Linked DNA regions of Homo sapiens: regions 1, 2, 4, 5, 6 and 7 are each linked to region 3. Evidence: promoter capture Hi-C in 16 types of primary human blood cells and fetal thymus (Javierre and others, 2016). All regions are on one chromosome and are shown on one strand. Each heading gives the region's core, a stretch centred on a gene start or on the middle of the fragment in contact. The rest is flanking DNA. Distances are from core to core; before and after follow the strand shown. Region 1 overlaps MCCC2 (methylcrotonyl-CoA carboxylase subunit 2). Region 2 overlaps BDP1 (BDP1 general transcription factor IIIB subunit). Region 3 holds the start of CCNB1 (cyclin B1). Region 4 overlaps BDP1 (BDP1 general transcription factor IIIB subunit). Region 5 overlaps MAST4 (microtubule associated serine/threonine kinase family member 4). Region 6 overlaps MAST4 (microtubule associated serine/threonine kinase family member 4). Region 7 overlaps BDP1 (BDP1 general transcription factor IIIB subunit).

Region 1 (2,814 bases), core at 11-2,510, 2.4 Mb before region 3:
ATAGCTGCGTACAGGGGCACAGGTACAGTCTCAGCTACTTGGGAGGCTGAGGCAAGAAGATCACTTGAGCTCCCGACTTCGAGTCCAGCCCGAGCAACAGAGTGAGGAGACCCTGTCTCTAAATAAACTAGTAAATAAGCAATTCTAGACCATACTTTCCAAATCCAGTCTTCTTCACTATTTTTATACTCCTGAGATCCAGTATTTAAACTACTCTAACCTAAATGTAAAATTTTACATTAAAAGTATTATATACAATTTTAAGTATTATATACTTGTTGATAAAAGTTATCTGAAACAGTCTATCAAATATGAAGAATGCTTTCCATCTGAGATTCAGCACTTAGGGAGGAAATATTAAATGCCTACTAAGAAATCACTGGCCAGGTGTGGTGGCTCATACCTGTAATCCCAGCACTTTGGGAGGCCAAGATGAGAGGATCGCTTGAGCCAGGGGTTCAGTCCAGCCTGGCAATAGAGCAAGAACCCATCTCTTAAAAAAAAAATTAATAAAAATTAAAAATAAATTATTTATTCATAAAATTTATGAATTTGAATCTTTACTTTTCCCCCCAAAAGTGGTAGTACTCTATGAAGAGAAAAACTGGCCAAGTAATAGGAAAAATAAAATTAAATGCCTGCATACCAACAAATGCATAGTCTTAAGAGTCAAAAGCTCAGCCAGGAGTAGTGGCTCACGCCTATAATTGCAGCACTTTGGGAGGCCAAGGCAGATGGATCACTTGACATCAGTAGTTCAAGACCAGCCTGGCCAACATGGTGAAACCTTGTCTCTATTTAAAAAATACAAAAATTAGACAGGCATGGAGGCAGGCACCTGTAATCCCAACAACTTGGGAGGCTGAGGCAGGAGAATGGCTTGAACCCAGGAGGCGGAGGTTGCAGTGAGCTGAGATGGCGCCACTGCACTCCAGCCTGGGCAAGAGAGCAAGACTCCATCTCAAAAAAAAAAAAAAAATATCAAAAGCTTAATTCCAGTATTTTTCCTAAAAGCAATAACTATTTTAGGACATCTTAAGTAAAGGCATAAGCTGTGGAATAAATGCTGTGTTTACCTAGTTTTATATGCTCCACTCGTTCATGGAGCTGATTTACTAGTGCTTTCATCTGCTTGTAGTTCTCCTAAAACAGAAATAGAGGAGACAGGGGAGAGAAATATTAGAAAGCAATTCCTTTTTACCAAAATAAAGGTCAAAAAAAAAAAAAAAACAGTGGTCTGTGCCAACTCTGTGTGGCCGCCACACTGGGCCACCCCATCTGTGGCAGCCACGCTGGGCCACTGGATCGTATGGAAAAGATTCACCCCTGCCTGTCTTGTTCAAGCTCTTCTTCACCACCCCACTTGTCCATCTCTCCATATCTTACTCCTCTGTAAGCCTAATTCATGTTTTATCTCATCTTCAACTCTACTTCTGGCCACTCCTACTCAATTTAACATCTTTCTTCCTTAAACACCTTCTGAACTTAAACTGATCTCTATTTGTTTTCCTATTTTAAGGAATATAAGCTTTTTGAAGGTTAGAATACCATCTTATTTTTCCTGTCCCATCAGTCACTATCTGAGATTCCAACCAATGCTTGCTTACTGACAAAGTACACTTAAAAACAAATCCCAGAGGGAGAAAAAGGATCTTATTTTTATTTTTAATTTTGTATTTTTATTTTTTGGGACAGAGTCTCCCTTTGTTGCCCCGGCTGGAGTGCAATGGTGCAATCTCGGCTCACTGCAACCTCCGCCTCCCGAGATCAAGCGATTCTCCTGCCTCAGCCTCCTAAGTAGCTGGGACTACAGGTGTGTGCCACCATGCCCAGCTAATTATTGTATTTTTAATAGAGACCGGGTTTCGCCATGTTGGCCAGGCTGATCTCAAACTCCTTACCTCAAGTGATTTGCCCATCTCGGCCTCCCAAAGTGCTGGGATTACAGGCATGAGCCACCGCACCTGGCCAAGGATCCTATTTTATGTTTTAAAAAGAACAGGCTGAGTGTGGTGGCTTATGTCTGTTATCCCAGAGCTTTGGAAGGCGGAGGCAGGAGCATCGCTTAAGCCCAGGAGTTTGAGACCAGCCTGAGTAACATAGGGAGACTTCCATCTTTACAAAAAGAATAAAAATAAAAAGAATAAAAATTTAAAAATTATCTGGGCATGGTGGTGTGTCCCAGCGACTTGACCAACTAAGGTGGAAGGATCTCTTGAGCCCAGGAGTTTGAAGCTGCAGTGAACTAGGATCGTGCCATTGTACTCCAGCCTGGGTGACAGAGCAAGACTGTTTCAAATAAATAAATAAATTAGTAAAAAGAACAAAACTCGGCCAGCCGTGGTGGCTCACGCCTGTAATCTCAGCACTTTGGGAGGCCGAGGCGGGCAGATCACCTACGGTCGGGAGTTCGAGACCAGCCTGACCAACATGGAGAAAACTCGTCTCTACTAAAAAATACAAAATTAGCCAGGCAAGGTGGTGCTTGCCTGTAATCCCAGCTACTCGGGAGGCTGAGGCAGGAGAATCCCTCGAACCCGGGAGGCGGAGGTTGCAGTGAGCCAAGATTGCATCATTGCACTCCAGCCTGGGCAACAAGAGCAAAACTCCATCTCAAAAAAAAAAAAAAAAAAACAGAACAAAACTCTATGCTGGCATATATACACAAATTAAGTAATACACAAGGAAATATTGACAGTGAGAAGTAGAAAAGAGGTAGAGGGACTAACTTTTCACCCTTCTGTATTTTTAAATTTTGTTTGGTCAGCATATTACTTTAGAACAATACTTAACTAGCTAATTATCTTTGAAATT
Region 2 (2,800 bases), core at 1-2,500, 2.4 Mb before region 3:
AGGAATTATACATACTCCTACTGAAGAAAAAAAAAAAAAACAAAATTAAAATGGACCAAATTATAGATGCTCAAAATAAATTCCTCAACATTTAGTAATTGTAAAATTCTGTATTATTAAAGTTTGCTTCATTTGTGTGGCAGCAATAGAAAAAGATTTTAGAAATAAATAAATTTTGCCCTTGTTGGCTGTAAATTTATGATCTCCCTATTTCATGCCAGGGATTTGACCTGTTGTGAGCTTAATAATCCTTACAGACTGGAATTTTATCCGATTATTAGTAAAAATGAGTTCTTTTGTTACTTTCAGTAATTATATAATCTCAGATGGATTTCAAGACAGCACTGTCAGCATTTAAGATTTTTAAAACCTTTATGTTCTATATGTACTTTATGTTCTATATGTTTTTGACAGGCTGTACTGCAATACTCTGCCACTAAGAAAGGAGCCCTATACAGAACACAAATCAGAGACTTTCCTGATAAATACATGGTTCCAAGCCTAAAAGTCTAATATGTCTTTATTTATCTATTTTTGAGACAGTGTCTCACTTTGTCACCCAGGCTGGAGTGCAGTGGTGCGATCTCAGCTCACTGCAGCCTTGACCTCCTGAGCTCAAGCGATCCTCCCACCTCAGCTTCCCAAGCAGCTAGGACTACAAGTGTACACCACCATGCCTGCCTAATTTTTTGTATTTTTTGTAGAGACGGGGTTCCACCATGTTGCCCAGGCTGGTCTTGAACTCCTGAAGTCAAGCATTCACCAGCCTCAGCCTCCCAAAGTGCTGGTATTATTGGCATGAGCTGCTGCATCTGGCCCAAAAGTCTAATACTTAAAATGAATGGAAGCTGGGTGCGGTGGCTCATGCCTGTAATCCCAGCACTTTGGGAGGCCAAGACGGGTGGATCACCTGAGGTCAGCAGTTCGAGACCAGCCTGGCCAAGATGGTGAAACCCCAACTCTACTAAAAATACAAAAATTAGCTGGGCATGGTGGCATGCGATTGTAATCCCAACTACTTGAGAGGCTAAGGCAGGAGAATTGCTTGAGCCTGGGAGGCAGAGGTTGCAGTGAGCCAAGATCGCACCATTGCACTCCAGCCTGGGTGACAAGAGCGAAACTCTGCTTCAAATAAATAAATAAGATGAATGGTAGGCTACTCATAACCAAACTCCGTCTCAAATAAATAAATAAGTAAATAAAATGAATGGTAACCAGGCAAAATAATTACCAGGAATAGTATAATTATTCATTTCATGCAATTAAAAGATATTGAGATAGTAAAGATTTATCACTTGTCTGTGATTTCCATCTAATAAGTTAAAAATCTTGGTTGATATATCTTTTGGCTCTGTCCAAACTGAGAACAGTTTAAACTAAATTATTTCAATGAGTGCTATTGTCTCTTTGTGCTCTATTTGTCATCTAATTGTGAATACCATCCCAAGCAGCAACTCCTTTGCAAAAGACACATGTATAAACTATATCAGTGATCAATGAGCTCAGTTAACCAATGACATTTATGATGGTAAAGGTAGTATTCACTACCTTTACCATGCATACAACTATTCCATGCATACAACTATTCCATGAATACAAATTATTCTTAATAAACCAAGAGCATGATCTTGAATTAGCTGTCACTACACCTAAACAGTAGTAAAATAGTGGATGGATCAATACATACATATCATATTTTATGGAAGAACAACAAAATGGAGACAACTTCAAAGGTAAAAGGGTTATTACTCAAATGTGGGTATAATTTCTTAAGTTAGGTTTTAAAAGTTTCTATTTTTGATAGGACTTAGCTTTCATTCTTACCATCACCCTGTTCACTACTGATCTCTGACTGCAATACTAGATCTCCCATTGTAAGTAAAGTTATTGCAGCTTCGGTGCTTCCATCATTGGTACCTTGTGAGGAAATATATCAACATTAAAAAAAAGAATGAATCCGGAAATCTGTTCACTTAAAAAAGATTTTTAATTAAGGTGTTTATCTCCTAGGAGCAGATTCCAATATCCTCTGAGCCATTAATCCCTTACTAAGGTAGTCTTTTGTTCAGGTTATATGCTACAAATAAATAAATCATCACTGTTGGTTTTGACTCACTGACCATGCCTCCCTCCCATTAAATAATATCTTCAAGGAAAATGCTCTCCCATTTGTGAAGATCCAGAGGAAATGCTCAAATACTTCTTAAACATTTTTTTAATTCACCTTCTAAAATAACATTCCAAGAATCCACATTTCTCACAGAGACAACACATTCAATAGCTGAATCTTTTTGTTAAACTCTCCAGCAAACTGATTCATTTATTATCCCCACTATTAAATCACTGTACTAGTGTTAATCAAGGTAGTCTTAGCAGTTTCCTTGATAACAGTTACCTGGTTCATCTTGGATATGTTCACTTGTGGTCATTTCCTAAAAAGGAAAAAAATAAGTAACATCTTAAAATACTTCCCCAAACATGTTCTGTTTCTCAGCATGCACTACATTTTCAGAGGTCTTTCCATACTTTTAGCTACAATAGTGTAAACTGGTTTGTCTTAATTTATAATTATTCACAAAATTTCACCAGCAAGAACATAAACAATTTAAAGGCAAAATTCTTGTGTCTCTTGCTCCTGACTTTATCTTTTTCTTGTATTATGTGCAAATTTTAACTCTTATCATTTTGTTATGTACGTCTACCATTCTTACTTTACTTCTTCATTTTCATAATCCTTCAACTCTAGTCATATCTGCTGCCAATTTTTACCCAATGGAAACCAAGGCCTAAAGGGTATTGC
Region 3 (2,759 bases), core at 16-2,515:
TCTTGCATGTATCAGTGAAATAAGGGACAAGAAATAATCAACAGACTCTACAATGGTAAGAATAAGTTTACCAAAATAGGCTCAGGCGAAAGTTTTTCTTCTTTAACAGGCTCAGGTTCTGGCTCAGGTTCTGGCTCTGGCACTGGCTCAGACACTGGCACTGGCACCAGCATAGGTACCTTTTCAAGAGGTTTTGGTAGTTTTTTATCAATGACTTTTCCAGTAGCTGAAGGTTTTGCTTCCTGTAGATGAAACAGAGAGAATGAAATGTTTCTGCATCAAAGGCCACAGTTGGAAGGCGGGCTCTTACAGAAGTTAGGTCAGGAAGAGAGTTACCTTCTTCATAGGCATTTTGGCCTGCAGTTGTTCACTGACTTTGTTACCAATGTCCCCAAGAGCTGTTCTTGGCCTCAGTCCGGGCTTGGAGGTTGCAGCAGGGGCCGTAGGAACGCGCTTTGCGCCTGCCATGTTGATCTTCGCCTTATTTTCAGCATTAATTTTCGAGTTCTGAAAGAAGCAAGACCACTTTAAGAGCTGATCCACGAAGGCTCGAGTAAGTCAAGGGTTAATTAAGGTGGGGCACAAGGAGAAGTTCCCAGAAAGAAAGCCGACTAAAAATGGGTTCCGAGGGAAAACATGGGTCCCAGAGTCTACTCTGCGGCCGTGACAAGTCAGTTTCCGCCGACCTCTACATTTACCAATTGAGGGATTCCCTGATTAGTCCTGGCCAGCCCTAAAATACCGAGAATTTACATTTGAAAGGAAACCGAAAAAGCCTCCAATTGCAGACACCTTCTCTCTGGGAAGGGGGTTACAGAGTTGCTGGCGGGCCCACTCAGGGACCCTCTATCACTTTTTCAAAAGGTTCCCAGTCGACTCTCCACCTCCCCAAAACATTTATCCAATATCCGTCCAGTTCTCTTTCTCACCTTCCTCCCTCCATCCATCGTCCCCCACACTCTCTCACCAGGCCTGGGCCCACCTCGGCGCTCTCTTGGTGAGTCCCCTCCCACCTTCCTCCCCAAATCGCTCCTGCGGCCCTCTCCCGCTCGGGAGGCTCCCGCAGGCGAGGCAGGGAGAGCAGGCAGCAGCTAAGAAGGCCGCGTTAGTTCGCAGTCCGAAGCGGCTCACCCTGGTGACTCGGAGCGCCATGGCTTCCTCTTCACCAGGCAGCAGCTCAGCGGGGAGAAGCAGAACACCGGAGGCCCGACCAGCCAAGGACCTACACCCAGCAGAAACCAACAGCCGTTCCGCCGCAGCACGCCGAGAAGAGCCAGCCTAGCCTCAGATTTAAACCCCGCACTGCTCCCTCCTTATTGGCCTGTTCGTGGCACTCACTCCCTTCCCATTGGCGGCTGCCGGTCGCAGAGAATGCGTTTCCAGGGCGATCGCGCGAAGGCGTTCGAGAGGGGCGGGGCCACAGTGAGGCTAGGCCGGAAGGCCTGGCCAGGCTCTCACGTGGTCTGCCTCTGCGCCTGCGCTCTCGGGCAGCTGCAGCGGCCACCTGGAGAGCAGTGAAGCCAGTGCGCCGCCCACCTGGAAAGGTTAGCCGGGCAAGAGTGTGCGTTGCCAATGCCAGCTCAGGAAAGGCCTAGTGGCCTTTGGAAGGTGACAGAGGCGCGGCCACAGTCTCAGAAGTGTCAAAAGTAGTTTTGGATCTAGTGTTGCACACTTTCCATTTCTACGGTAGCAGCAATAATATAGTTCATGAAAGGCTTTAATAGACATTCTTTCATTTGATCGTTGCAACAACTCTCTGGGTTGGAGGAACTGAAGCTCAGCGACTTAGATGACTTTGCCAGGGTCACACATTAGCAACGGGGGAACTGAATTTAGGGTTTTTTTTTTTGAGGGGGAGGGAGGGGGTGTATCCGTGTTGTTTTCACAACACTGATTGTCCCTTAACAATATTACTTGATTACTTCAAGATTGTCCAGTTTCCCAAGGCCAATTGTTTTGTTTGTTTTAGCTTTCTATTTGGAAATAATTTCATACTTAGACCAGTTGCCAACAAAAATCTTGTAAGGAATATTTCTATGCCCTTTACTCAGATTCAACTATCCTTAACATGTATTTGCCTCTCATGGGAAAATCAGGAAAAACTAAACAAAAAGACATTTTACCCCATTTGCTTTGTCATTTGCTCAGATTCTCTCTAGATCCAAAGAAAAACAAGAGGGTTCTTTTTGCCTTCTACTCCTCAAAACACACCAGCAGCTCAGCAATTGGAGGGGAGGCTGAAGGACAAAAACATTGCTATCCCATAGAGCAACGGTATAAGAGCCAATAGAGACTCCTGGCGCTGGAAGTCACGGATCCGAAAGAAGGCGCCCAATCATTTGGTTTCTTTGGATCGTTATTGAGTCTTCTGTCATCATAGTTCACCCTCCTACTCGAATGCCTCCCGTGGGGCCCTTACCCTTGCTCTCCTCTGCCTGGAATGCCCGCCTCTTCTTGCATTCAAGCCCCTGGGTTCTATTCAGGTAACTCCCATTCATCCTTCAGTTCTGTGTTCAACATCCATTCTCACTCAGTCTTTCTGGGTTTGATCAATCCTTCCTCGCCCCATGCAGGGGCGAGAGGCAAGGGGCGAAGCAGGATTACTTATCCTCTGTGTTCCAGTTTAAAAATTTTTTTTTTTACTTTTTTTTGAGACGGAGTCTCGATCTGTCGCCCAGGCTGGAGTGCAGTGGTGCGATCTCGACTCACTGCAACCTCCACCTCCAGGGTTCACTCCATTCTCCTGCCTCAGCCTCCCG
Region 4 (3,114 bases), core at 229-2,728, 2.3 Mb before region 3:
CTCTTCCCGTTTAAATTTATTCTGTTAACAACAAAAAACCCTATGGTAATTTTCTCTCATAAAACAAGCATTTTTTTTTAAATGCAGTAAGCATTAAAATGAAACTCTTAGGAATAACATACTGCTCTCTACTTAATATGTCTTTGCCAATAGGCAAGTTACTTAAACCTTCGGCTTTTTAAAAATAAGGATGAAAGATTTTTACTGAGCTTCTTGATTCTCATTACCAATAGCATGAATCAGCAATGGAAGCTGGATTTACAGAGGACAGAAAAAAATAAAGTCAACAAACATGAAAGCAGATCAAACCTATGACTAAGCTCACTGGTATTAACTTTTAAAAAATTAAGTATTCGTAACAGGTTAAACCTCTGACATCATTGTTCTAATATATTTCAAGTAGCATGGAGAGAAGACTATAGAGAAACAACTAAGTGAAATTTTGAAGCAGGCCAAGTTTATCCTGACAAACTTCTATATATTAAGGCACATTTCCTCACATTTTTCTCAGCCCCAAAAATCCCTGTCCTCAGTTTACTACCAGATTACTTCCATTAAGAGGGAGATGTTTAAGGCTTAAGGCTCAATCCATCCTAAAGTCATTAGGAAGACTGAGGGCATAAGTTTGTGTCTGAAGACGTCTGATCACGCAAACACATCGTAGGAGAGGAAACAAACAGCCAATGTTTCCCATCTACACGTCAGTGATCTACAAGTTTTTATTAAAAGCACAAAAATAAAGCTTTTTAATTGCAAAAAAGAGAGAGAGAATATCACATAAAACAAAGGAAGTACTTCATGCCCCCTTCCTCCCTTCAAAAGAACTTAACCACTAATATGACTTGTAAAGCAATCACTTTCTTGTATTTCCTTATTGTTTATGACCCAAGTGTGTATTCTTAGATGATACAGTTTAGCCTTGCCCATATTTTTAAAACCTGATATGACATTAACATCTTTTAATGTACAGGTTGCCCTTCTTTCCCATTCTTTTGTTTTTCTTCACAAAACTTATTATCAATACAGAAGTTTTCAAAGATAATCTTATTTCTGCCTTAAAAGATCATACTGTTATTTAAACATTTCCTCAAAAGTTAACAAATGTTACCTCCACAAAAAATGATTGGCTATAAACACTAAATTAAATGTCCTAAAAGAAATATCAATAGGCTTCAGGCATTTAATTCTAAAACAGTGCTACCTCATATTTTACTTAATTGGTAATATAATTCAGAACAATTTAAAACTTTCTCAAAGAAATATATTGAAACTAGTCAATGATTTCATAGGTAAGAACCAGTAACAGGCCAAATTCCATGATCACAAAATAAATCCCATAATTTCCACTTCTGGCCTTGGCAAAGTAACTCATTATGGACAGGTCCTACATATCCAACTCCACCACGAATGACTTTTAACACTGACAAAATATATGCATCAATTATTTTCAAGCAAAGGACAATAGTGAGAGCAAGACTACAATCACGGAGAGAAGGAAAACAGACAAGATGTGCCCATGTTTACCTTGGCTCTCTGCCTGGGCTCAATTTCCTAACCAAGGAAAGGGAGGTGAAGGCCAAACAGGGTACAGCAATCCAACTAGGCTGCAGAGGTAGGGAATCTTTAGGAGCATAGTTCTAAAAAGGAACTGTGTAGAGGGGTACCTCACAGGCCTGGTGGAAATACCCCATGATACCTTGGCCTAAGTATGGGTTGCATATGTCCAGAATATAAGGCTTAAAAGAGAACAGCTGCTAAAGCCATGAAGGCAGAAGGAAGATGCTAAAAGTCATAAAACACCATATGACAATAGAGTTCAGGTGCATCCTAATGGAAAGACCTCATTAATACCCAAATACATTCACCTCAGACACCAGAAAGATCACCATTAGAGATAAAAACGATACCCTAGAGTAGCCTTTCTCTACCAGGGATGTAGCATGAGAATTAAGTACTAATGCATTAAAGCAGCCACTGTATGCAATGCATTCCCTTCTCTCACTTATCTATTAATAGTATAGTATTAGTATAACCATCCTTAGAGAACTTAGAAAATAATAACTCATGCCTACCATGAGACTGTTCTGGGAAAAGAAGAAAATAATAAAATATAATAGTAATTCAAATTATTTTCTGTAAATCAGATGAGAAATCCCATTGGAGAAAGGATGTCCTAGATTAAAGACCAGTCTAGATCTGCCTCAACAAAGCTTTAAGACAAGCCTTAACAGGAACAAAGAAGTTGGCAGTACATTAACAGTTTTCCAGAACAAAAGTCAACACTATTTTTTATTCTGTTTTGTTTATTGAAACAGAGTCTTGATGTCTTCCAGACTGGAATGCAGTGCTGTGATCACAGCTCACTGCAGCCTTGATCTCCCAGGCTCAAGCAATCCTCCTGCCTCAGCCTCCTGAATTGCTAGGGGACGTGTGCCACCAAGCCTGGCTTTTTTTTTTTTTTTTTTTTTTTTCTTTGTAGAGATGGGATCTTGCCATGTTGCTCAGTCTGGGTTTGAACTTCTGGGCTCAAGCAATCCTCCCGTCTCAGCCTCCCAAAATACTAGGATTAGAGGTGTGAACCACCGCGCCTGGCCCACTGCGCTTTAAAAAAAAAAAGAAAAAACATAATCCAGACACTCTACAACACATCATTCACAATGTCTGGTATGTGATTTCATTTTTTTTTTTTGAGACGGAATCTTGCTCTGTCTCACAGGCTGGAGCGCAGTGGCGCGATCTCAGCTCACTGCAACCTCTGCATCCCGGGTTCATGCCATTCTCCTGCCTCAGCCTCCCAAGTAGCTGGGACTACAGGCGCACGCCACCACGCCTGGCTAATTTTTCACATTTTTAGTAGAGACAGGGTTTCTGTGTTAGCCAGGATGGTCTTTATCTCCTGACCTCGTGATCCACCCGCCTTGGCCTCCCAAAGTGTTGGGACTACAGGCATGAGCCACTACGCCTGGCCTAGTATGCAATTTCAAAAAAACTCACGGTTGGCCGGGCATGGTGGTTCACTTCTTATAATCCTAGCACTGTGGGAGGCTGAGGTGAGTGGATCACTTGAGGTCAGGAGTTCGAGACCAGCCTAGCCAACATGGTGAAACCACATCT
Region 5 (3,217 bases), core at 11-2,510, 2.2 Mb after region 3:
GTCTAGGACTAGACGGCAAAAACAAAACAGAGCAAAGCACAAACAATTACTTTTGTCTAATAGCCTTAACATATACTTAAGATAAATACACACCTGAGACTTCCCAACAAAATCCATAAATGTTGGGCCATGAATCCCCTCCAAACATGTTAGTTTCTCTATTAAAAAGCTTTGAAATCAAACCTGTTAAGTGGCTGAAGGAACAGCTACAAGCCACTGCCTGCTGGACACACCTATAAGAATGGAAGGTTTGAAAAGCAGGGGTTGTTTCTTCAGCTCCAGGCTGGGCATGCCACTTACATGGGAACTAAAGAACTGGCTTAAAACGAGGACTATAATCTTTCTGGAACAATAGGTCATGACGAGCTTCCTTAATGCCAAAATAAGTGTTTAGAAGTAACTTCTGCTAACTGAAAAAAAGTATAAAGGGCATATATATTTACTCTGGCTGGAATACAACATTTCTGAATATGTTTATCAGTGCCAAGAGTCAGAACCCTTTTCCCTCATGGATTTCCAACCTGGGACCCATTCCATGGAATGTCTCTATATCCGAGAAATGGCATAAAGAAGTTGTATCATATTAATAGCTAACCAGTTCAGTATCTGTTCTCTTTGACCTCTAAATCACCCTAGATCTGATGTGAGAAGGTAGACTAATTGTAAGGTTAAATCTCAAAAGGTAAGAAAAACCACAATTGCTCTTGATTAAAGAGCTTCCTCTACAAGAAGCCATCAAATAATACATAATCACAATGTTATAGAAAAATGAAGTCTACCTGCTAAAATGGCATTTTGGCCATGGCTATGCTGGTAAAATAGCATTAAAAGCAGTAAGATCCAAGAACTGGACTGAAGAGAGCAGGTCTCTGATCTTAAGCCTGGATTCCAATGTTAAGAAAGTCACTATTGATTTTTCACTTTAAAAATCCTTGATTTCAAAGGCTAACCTGCCTGAACTTCACAGGAGAGAAGGCATCTATTGAGAAAGAATGCTACAAATAAGTTTTACAGGCCACACAGTAAAAATACGGCAACTTTTATTCCACGGTTCAAATACGTAACCCCAGACATCAAATCCTAAAACATATAGGAAATTATGATTCATACGCTTAGAGGCTTATTTTGCAGAATCCATAACAAGAACTATTACCTAAAGCACCCAAATTATCCCACATCTGTTTAGCTCCACTGGTCACTAAGGCCATTTGACATCAAAGATGAGAAATCCTTCTGCTTAGGGACCTACTATGGAAATGCGAACTTAAAATCATCCATTCAACTTGCCAAGGCAACTGATGTGCCTATCAATTGTTTTGCCACATGCCTGCCCTTTGCAGTGGTTGAGCAAGCCTAGGTTAATTTTACAATAAACCAGTTTTTGGGTTAGCAAATTACTTGTGTTTATCTGGAAGGGTACTAGGATAGGGAATAGTTAAGTAGATAAAATCAGTCCTTACATGGAAAAAAAAAAAATCTGACATAGCTTCAGTAGCTCCAGTACTTAGTTCCTGATCTAGGTAATCTATTTGGAAAAGTCTTTGATTTTTGTATCAAAAGTCTTGAGATTAGCCAAGTGAAAGTAATATTTTTACAGGAATTATATCTCAAGTTCCAAGATCAACAAGCCACTCAAATCAGACATAAGAAATAACATTACATAATAGCCACTTAATGCCTATTGTTTTACAGTAACAAAGGCTTCATTTACCATATTTCCTCGAGTGCTTTATTCAGCTGGCAGTTTTTCCCATGCCAAACATAATTTTTTCCCTCAACCCCTTCATACATCTATAAAAGTAAAACATTTTATACTTATACTTTTTAAATTATTATAATTCCCAATTTAAATATATCCATCCTATTGCATTTTAGAAAACATTAATGTGAAAGGGGCATAAGTGATTTTTATGTAAGCTATGGATCCAGTGATTTTCTACAGATTTCATAGCTGAGAAATTTGTCAATGACTACATAATATTCCAATAACGACTCTTAAGGAAGAAACCCAGTAAAGCGTGAGACATAAACATACACTGTAACATTTAAAATTAGATAGAATAAAGCATACTTCTTTACAGCTTTTATTTTGTTTGATAGCTTCAACAAATACTCATGTGGCAAAATGGGCCTGGTAAATCCATCAGCTTTCTTCCCCTTCTAATTCTATGACCCTAAGAGACCTCAGCAAATTTCACATTTTCAGTTTCTCATTCCCTCCACCTAGGTTTTTCACTCAGAACCCAATATACTACCTCTAAAAGATACTGCCACTTGAACTTCCATGTCAGGTTAGAAACTTTCCAGGGGCACAAGGTGCTGGTACTTACTTTGAACAGCTAAAAGCTTATTCAAGAACTTCAGAATAAAAATGGTGGTTGGCCTACCAGATGTCAAGATCTGCATTTTGCTTGTACTACTGCCTGCAATTACAGTTTGCTAAGAGCCCCCAAACTCTGACAAAATCAGTCACTGATAAATGTAGGACCACAAAGCAGAATGTAAAAATTCCCAGGATTCTATAATAAAGTAAGCAATGGGGTGCTTCAGATAAGAGATATACAGTAATGACTGCCTATTCTTCTTACCAATCTATTTTACCTTCAAGTACTGATCAAAGCCTAAATTCTCTGCTATGGTCTTTTTTCTTTAAAATAAAACCATGATATGTCAGTTGTGATATTAGTATAATTACCTTCTCAAATAGGCATGTCCAATAGACATTAATGTAGCTAAAATTCCCACAGGTCCTTTTATTGTATTAATAAGGTTTAAGATCAACATTTTCAGAATTTACAACCAAGTTCCTAGTGGAATTTTTTTCTTTTCTTTTTTTCTATCTGCCTGGAAATAAGGACAGTACCAGAACTACAATGTATGAACTTTTGAGATCTATCTAGTTACAAAATGTACCACATTATCACAAAAACCAAGTTCCTACTGATAGAGACTGACTCTACTTTTAGTAGACAATTTTATGCACACTTTGTATCTACTTTCATCTAGGTAGCCCCAGGACCATTTTAATATCTTGGCTCTACTATGTAAGTTTCAAAAGGATTACTCAGTTACCATGATGTCACTCCCAAATGACTAGTTACAGGTAGTGAAGACAGCTCAGATTAACATAACATGCTTACTCACACTAGAGATGGGTGTGTATGGAGGGTGAGGCTGGGGTCCAGGGCCTCCAGTTTCCATCTGTGTGAGACACCAG
Region 6 (2,824 bases), core at 309-2,808, 2.0 Mb after region 3:
TTCTCACTCTCAATTCCAGGTGGCTGCAGAGACCGCCTGGCAAGAAGCGCTTCGGGCTTGGGTTCCACGCCACGCCTCACCTTGCCCAGCTCCTTCTCACAGGGAATTCCAGCTGAGTGCAGAGAGGAGTTGTCTCTGGGCGGGGGCCTCGCCTCACCTGGGCCATCTTTGTGGTTCGTTTTCCCACCCGGCGCCCATGCTTTCTCCATGGCCTGGGTCTGTGTATAGAAATCTGGGTGGGTCCTTCCCACAGAGAGGAGATTTTTGGAGTTGTCACTGGTTTTCGCAGTTTCTGGAAAGCACAGTTCCATGGAGGGCTCTCTGCATGTGTCAGCCCTCGCAGCAGAGCGCTCGCTTCTGGCTGTGGGAGGGCCTCTTTCAGACGATTCCCTCAGGCCTGGCTTCTCCCTTGAGGGGGAAGCTTCAGGTGGGAGCGGGCAGCGTGGCCTGGCCAGGTCAGGGCTGTGGAGGTTCTGCCCCAGGCAGGTCAGAAGCTTGGGGTCAGTGGTGTGGTCTTGGTGTTTAGGGGAGCTGCCCTCTCTCTGTTGGGGATTGCTTTCCATGACTGTTCCAGGGCTCCTGGCAGTAGGATGGGGACCTTTCCTGTCCCTCTTGAACTCTGGGTCAGGCAGGGAAACTGCTGGTGAATTCTGGAGACCTCGGCTGGGGGGCAGGAACCAAGGCTCCAGCAGGTAGGATTTATTCATCTTTAAGCTGGAAGGAGAAAGCTCTCTTGCACTGGTGGTATCGTTCTTTTTCCCACTGCTGCTGGGGAGAACTGGTGGCACAGAGGCCCTCACGTCACCACTTGGGCTGGGGCTCTGTGCAGACTCTGGGGAAGGCAGTTCTGTCTTGGAGGCCTGAGGTCCGGACAGGAGAGCAATGTCCAGAGTGCCCTCGATCGGCTTCAGGCATGAGACAGACCTACCTTCCAGCTTATACTCGGAGGGGCTCTTCCTAACAGGGGACTCAGGAGCAACCAAGCCAGGCTTCTCCGTTCCACTGTCCACCCGGCCTGTTAAGGCCTTGAGGGGAACAAAAGAGACGGCACTCATCTGAGCTGCATGGGTGCTGCTGACAAAAGCTCGGCTCTCAGAAGCCGGCGGGGGCTCCTGCTGCCCACCCGTGGGTCGGACTGGGTTCCCTGGCAGGCATTCGTGGGAGCCAGCTGTCATCTTGGGCTTCAGCACAGGGCAGAGGTTGTCCTCTTTGTCCTCAAGTGACATTTTCTTTCGGAGGTAATCGATGTTGGCCAGCTTGCTGTCTAACTTTTCACATCGGAGAAGCTCCTTGGCCTGGGAGGACTTCTCCGTGCCTTCCCCCTTCCCAGAGATGCCCCTGTCGAGGGAGTGGCAGAGACCATCCTGGAGGGTGCCAGGAGCGGGGGCCCGTCTGAAGTCCCCGCCACCCTGGCGGTGCTCCGCAGGCACCCGGCCATCCGACATCGCACCCTCGCTGGCGCGCACGCTGGCCTGCTTGTGAAGAGCATCCTTCAGCAGGCTGCCCAGCGGTGGCGCCTCCTGCATAGACGCTTTGTTTTCAAAAGTACTTGACCTTTCCACAGCCTTCGGATAGACTTTCTTCTCTCTCTCTTCCAGCTTAAACAGAGCAAAGTTTTCCAAATCACTCCCGGGTCCATGGGATTTCTGGTGGGATTCCTGTTTCTCTGGGAAGCCGTCTGCTTTCTTCACCACCACCTTGGCCTTCAGCTTGTCGCGGTCCAGGTCGTCCACAGACTCCTGGCGGCCCACCTTCCGGGAGACTGGGCGTTTCAGGCAGCCTTGCTCCACTGGCCGGGCGCGGCTGAGCGGCGGCACGTCGCACACGTTCTCATCCAGGCTCTGCAGCGGCGCCTCCCGCTGGGACTGCTCCCGCTGCACCTCCTCTTGGGTCACCTCCAGGCTGTGCTTGCGGGAGCACAGGTGCTTCTTGTCACTGCCGTAAGAGGGCGACAGCTTCTCCTCGGACTGCACGCGCTTGAGCAGCGGGGACCTGGGGGGCTCCGCACTCTTGGGCCTCACGATGTGTCTGACGATGGTGGGCGGGGAGTGCATCTTGCTGGGAAAGGCTTGCGCGATCTTGGAATTGCCCAGTGAGTGTCCCAGAAGAGGGGATGGTGACCGCTGCGGGGAGGTGGGTTGCGGGGTTGGAGAGGGCGTCCGGGCCAGCGGGGACAGTGGGATGTTGCCGGCGGACTTTCGCCTTCCGGACCGGTACCGCTGCCCGCCGAGTTTGGGTGCAAGACCGTGGAGAGTGCTGGGCCGGATGTGCCCGGACCCTGCTGGGGAATTGGGGGCACTAGAACTAGGGGAGCTGCTCTGGGAGGAATTAGTACCTGTGGATGGAAAACAGAAGGCTGTGAGCATCCATGGTCATTTTCCCCTTTTTTTCACAGTTGTAGCCCAGACTGTATTAGGTAAGGCCAGGTAAGATCAGCAAATTGTCTCAGCATTTAGCTAGTGGAATAAACACTTTTCAGATAAACCTCTCCAGGCCAAGGTTTAGCCCCATACTTCTTGACTTATTTGTTTGGTCAGAATAGCCACATCTTATGACCTCTCTATAAATCTGTCTTTATAATTTACACCTTCAACCTGCTTTCTTTCAGCTGGAACAAGCTTCATGTTTTTTGGGGACCTCACATGACTTTACCTCCCCTCCCCTCTGCTGTTTAGACCAGGAGACTCACTCACCAGATGGGAAGTCAGGGGTGGAGCGGTAGCTTGGTGTTGGAGACCGGGGAGACAAGCTATGAGTGGGGGAACCTGGGAGGCTCTCACCCGATGACAGGGATCTGTTCAAGCAGGAGAAACTTCGGCTGGTG
Region 7 (3,069 bases), core at 411-2,910, 2.4 Mb before region 3:
TTTATTTATTTATTTATTTTAAGACAAAGCCAGGCTGGAATGCAATGGCATGATCTCAGCCCACTGCAACCTCCACCTCCCGGGTTCAAGCAATTCTCTTATCTCAGCCTCCCAAGTAGCTGGGACTACAGGCACACACCACCGTGCCTGATTAAATTTTGTATTTTGGTAGAGATGGGGTTTTGCCATGTTGGCCAGGCTGGTCTCAAACTCCTCACCTCAGGTGATCTGCCCGCCTTGGCCTCCCAAAGTGCTGGGATTACAGGCGTGAGCCACCGCACCCAGCTGGGAAGAGTACCTTTTTAAACTATCTGAAAGCAGAAAGCTATAAAAGATTGACAAATTAAACAGAAATAAAAAATGTCTGCTTGACAAAAACCACCATAAATAAAATCAAAAGACAAATGACATACAGAGAAAAAAAAAATTGCAATCTTTATCACAAAGGGCCTTTTTCCCTGAATATAATAAGAACACTACAGGCCAGGCACAGTGGCTCATGCCTGTAATTCCAACACTTTGGGAGGCCAAGGCTTGAGGCCAGGCATTTGAGAACAGCATGGCCCACATGGCGAAATCCCGCCTCTACTAAAGATACAAAAATTAGCTGGGTGTTGTGGCATGCATCTGTAAGCTCAGCTAATCGAGAAGCTGAGACAGGAGAATCACTTGAACCCAGGGGATGGAGGTTGCAGTGAACCAAGATCACGCCACTGCACTACAGCCTGGGTGACAGAGTGAGTGAGACTCTGTCTCAAAACAAACACACAAAAAAAACAAAACCCACGACTTTGGCAATGATAAGCTAGACTGATATCTTGATCTCAGAAAATAATTCTAACAAATAATACAAAATGTTTTTAAAAAGTTTAAAGATGTTCTTTACAAAAGTACCCCTTCCAAAGGCTCATGCTGTTCAACAGATGCTCACCAGCCTTCTCTTTGTCAAGATCTTAAGTCACCCCAATATTTTTACAAAGTCTTTGATACAGGTTTACAGAGTTTTCCATCCCAATACTTGCCATTGGACAGCTTCAGGAGACATAGAAATGAAACATGTGAACAAATTCTAGTTTTACAGTTCCTTAAATTCTTGTGGGTGTCAGCACTGCTTCCTTTTGCTTCCACAAGTCAGAAGGGTCTCTAGATTAAAGGAATGGCTATTAAGTGTCCATTTATGGTTAGTTCAATGGCTCTGTACTAATCTAACTGTAACTTCCTGACTCAACACCTTTTCTTCTTCCATTATGGAGGAACACGATGGAGAGAAGGATGGGAGTTGCTCTAAAATAATTTCTGACATCAAATAAAAATAACAAATTACTATGTTTTCCCTAGTTGAATCTCATATCCAACCCATCTCATACAAACTATAAAATACAGTAGTTATCACATACCTGAGTTGCTGAGCTGCTAATATTCTCAGATTGAGTAGTAATAACACTTGGAGATGGAAGCAGATCAGAGGACTCTCGATTTTTTTCCTGGCTTTCATTGAATGGATTAGATCTTTTCAATTTCTTTCTTAATCCAGGTATAAGAGGTTTTAGGCGTTTCTTACTATGGACTTGCATAGGTTCATCAGACTCCAAACTATTCTTTGAGCATATTAAAGATAAAAATCCCAGGGGTCTTCTGCCAGGTCTAGAAATACAAATGTAACGATATTCAAGAATACCCAGGAAGACACATTCTTTTTTTTTTTTTTTTTTTTTTTTTTTTGAGACGCAGTCTCACTCTCACCCAGGCTGGAGTGCAGTGGCGCAATCTCGGCTCACTGCAACCTCCACCTCCCAGGTTCAAGAGATTCTCCTGCTTCAGCCTCCCAAGTAGCTGTAGTAGAGACGGGGTTTCACCATGTTGGTCAGGCTGGTCTCGAACTCCTGACGTCGTCATCTGCCTGCCTCAGCCTCCCAAAGTGCTGGAATTACAGGCGTGAGCCACCGCACCCAGCCAAGACACAACCTTAATACCTGCTTCTGCTTTGGGAGGCTAAGGTGGGAAGACCACTTAAGGCCAGGAGCTCAAAAACAGCCTGGGCAAAATTAGCAGGACCCCGGTCTCTAGAACATCTCTAGCATTCAAATCACTTGGGGATCTTATTAAAATGAAGATTCGCACAGTTGGTAGCGGGCATGGCCTGAGTTCTGCATTTTATCAAGTTCTCAAATGATGTCCATACTGCTGTTGTCAGGACTACACTCTGAGTAGCAAAGCTGTGGAACAGTGGTCAGCACAGTATGCTCTACAGGCCACATGCAGCCCCGCACCCAATTCTGTGAGTATGTTTTACTGGAACACAGCTATGTTCATCTGTTTACATATGGTCTATGGTTGCTTTTGTGCTGTAACTGCAGAGCTGAATAGCTGTTAACAGAGACCACATGGCTTACAAAGCCTAAAATATATACAAATGCCATTTTACAAAAAATGCTGACTTCCGTTCTAGAACACTGCTTCTCAACCTGTTTTAATCCAAACTCTCATGATGTTATTATTTTATTTTAATTTATTTTTTGAGACAGTTTCGCTCTTGTTGCCCAGGCTGGAGTGCAATGGCACAATCTCGGCTCACCGCACCCTCCGCCTCCTGGGTTCAAGCGATTCTCCTGCCTCAGCCTCCTGAGTCACTGGGATTACAGGCATGTGCCAACATGCCCAGCTAATTTTATATTTTTAGTAGAGATGGGGCTTCTCCATGTTGGTTAGGCTGGTCTGGAACTCCCAACCTCAGGTGATCCACCCACCTCAGCCTCCCAAAGTGCTGGGATTACAGGCATGAGCCACCGCACCCAGCCTTTTTTTTTCTTTTTTCAGAGACGGGTCTGGCTATGTTGCCCAGGCTGGAGTGCAGTGGCTATTCACAGGCACAATCATAGCTCACTGCAATCTCAAACTCCGGCCTCAGCCTCCTGAGTAGCTGGGATTATAGGCATGTGCCACTGTACCTGGGCCTCATTCTATTTTCAGCACATATCTAAGGCCAGAAGAGATACCACTGAGCTTTACCTTCTATAATTTAGATAACAAAAACAATAGATCTATTAAATATGTCTTTTAAGCTACATG

What was found. The method cuts DNA at HindIII sites, captures the fragments that hold promoters and counts their contacts. A CHiCAGO score of 5 or more calls a contact.
Region 1: a contact is called between a fragment that was not itself captured here and the fragment with the promoter of CCNB1 in region 3, in 8 of 17 cell types (total B cells, naive CD8 T cells, monocytes and 5 more). The highest score is 16.1, in total B cells.
Region 2: a contact is called between a fragment that was not itself captured here and the fragment with the promoter of CCNB1 in region 3, in 3 of 17 cell types (activated CD4 T cells, monocytes and non-activated CD4 T cells). The highest score is 7.0, in activated CD4 T cells.
Region 4: a fragment that was not itself captured here is called in contact with the fragment with the promoter of CCNB1 in region 3 in 11 of 17 cell types (total CD4 T cells, monocytes, naive CD4 T cells and 8 more); the score reaches 12.3 in total CD4 T cells.
Region 5: a contact is called between a fragment that was not itself captured here and the fragment with the promoter of CCNB1 in region 3, in 1 of 17 cell types (activated CD4 T cells). The highest score is 6.8, in activated CD4 T cells.
Region 6: a fragment that was not itself captured here is called in contact with the fragment with the promoter of CCNB1 in region 3 in 1 of 17 cell types (fetal thymus); the score reaches 6.6 in fetal thymus.
Region 7: a fragment that was not itself captured here is called in contact with the fragment with the promoter of CCNB1 in region 3 in 1 of 17 cell types (total CD8 T cells); the score reaches 5.7 in total CD8 T cells.

Annotation. Positions count from the first base shown.
Region 1 is chr5:71,591,255-71,594,068 of GRCh38, reverse strand. It overlaps MCCC2 (methylcrotonyl-CoA carboxylase subunit 2), which reads right to left. Exons shown (of 17, transcript NM_022132.5): 2 at 1,077-1,143. Among named protein-coding and RNA genes, the nearest start is that of MCCC2, 5.3 kb to the right of the region's middle. The HindIII fragment of the contact is 540 bases long and covers 991-1,530 here.
Region 2 is chr5:71,538,674-71,541,473 of GRCh38, reverse strand. BDP1 (BDP1 general transcription factor IIIB subunit) reads right to left here. Exons shown (of 39, transcript NM_018429.3): 27 at 2,396-2,432; 28 at 1,825-1,917; 29 at 1-20. Among named protein-coding and RNA genes, the nearest start is that of MCCC2, 47 kb to the left of the region's middle. The HindIII fragment of the contact is 3,292 bases long and covers 1-2,800 here.
Region 3 is chr5:69,165,656-69,168,414 of GRCh38, reverse strand. CCNB1 (cyclin B1) reads right to left here and starts at 1,265. Exons shown (of 9, transcript NM_031966.4): 1 at 1,132-1,265; 2 at 337-507; 3 at 72-242. The coding sequence starts at 1,152. RefSeq lists enhancers at 1,010-1,239, 620-1,585. The HindIII fragment of the contact is 10,262 bases long and covers 1-2,759 here.
Region 4 is chr5:71,480,749-71,483,862 of GRCh38, reverse strand. BDP1 (BDP1 general transcription factor IIIB subunit) reads right to left here. Exons shown (of 39, transcript NM_018429.3): 8 at 1-21. Among named protein-coding and RNA genes, the nearest start is that of BDP1, 27 kb to the right of the region's middle. RefSeq lists an enhancer at 167-461. The HindIII fragment of the contact is 1,468 bases long and covers 745-2,212 here.
Region 5 is chr5:67,012,355-67,015,571 of GRCh38, reverse strand. The region is part of intron 4 of MAST4 (microtubule associated serine/threonine kinase family member 4); the gene reads right to left. Among named protein-coding and RNA genes, the nearest start is that of MAST4-AS1, 9.8 kb to the right of the region's middle. RefSeq lists a silencer at 257-551. The HindIII fragment of the contact is 2,177 bases long and covers 172-2,348 here.
Region 6 is chr5:67,162,658-67,165,481 of GRCh38, reverse strand. It overlaps MAST4 (microtubule associated serine/threonine kinase family member 4), which reads right to left. Exons shown (of 29, transcript NM_001164664.2): 28 at 2,694-2,824; 29 at 1-2,335. Among named protein-coding and RNA genes, the nearest start is that of CD180, 33 kb to the left of the region's middle. The HindIII fragment of the contact is 2,124 bases long and covers 497-2,620 here.
Region 7 is chr5:71,560,849-71,563,917 of GRCh38, reverse strand. BDP1 (BDP1 general transcription factor IIIB subunit) reads right to left here. Exons shown (of 39, transcript NM_018429.3): 38 at 1,398-1,644. Among named protein-coding and RNA genes, the nearest start is that of MCCC2, 25 kb to the left of the region's middle. The HindIII fragment of the contact is 5,540 bases long and covers 1-3,069 here.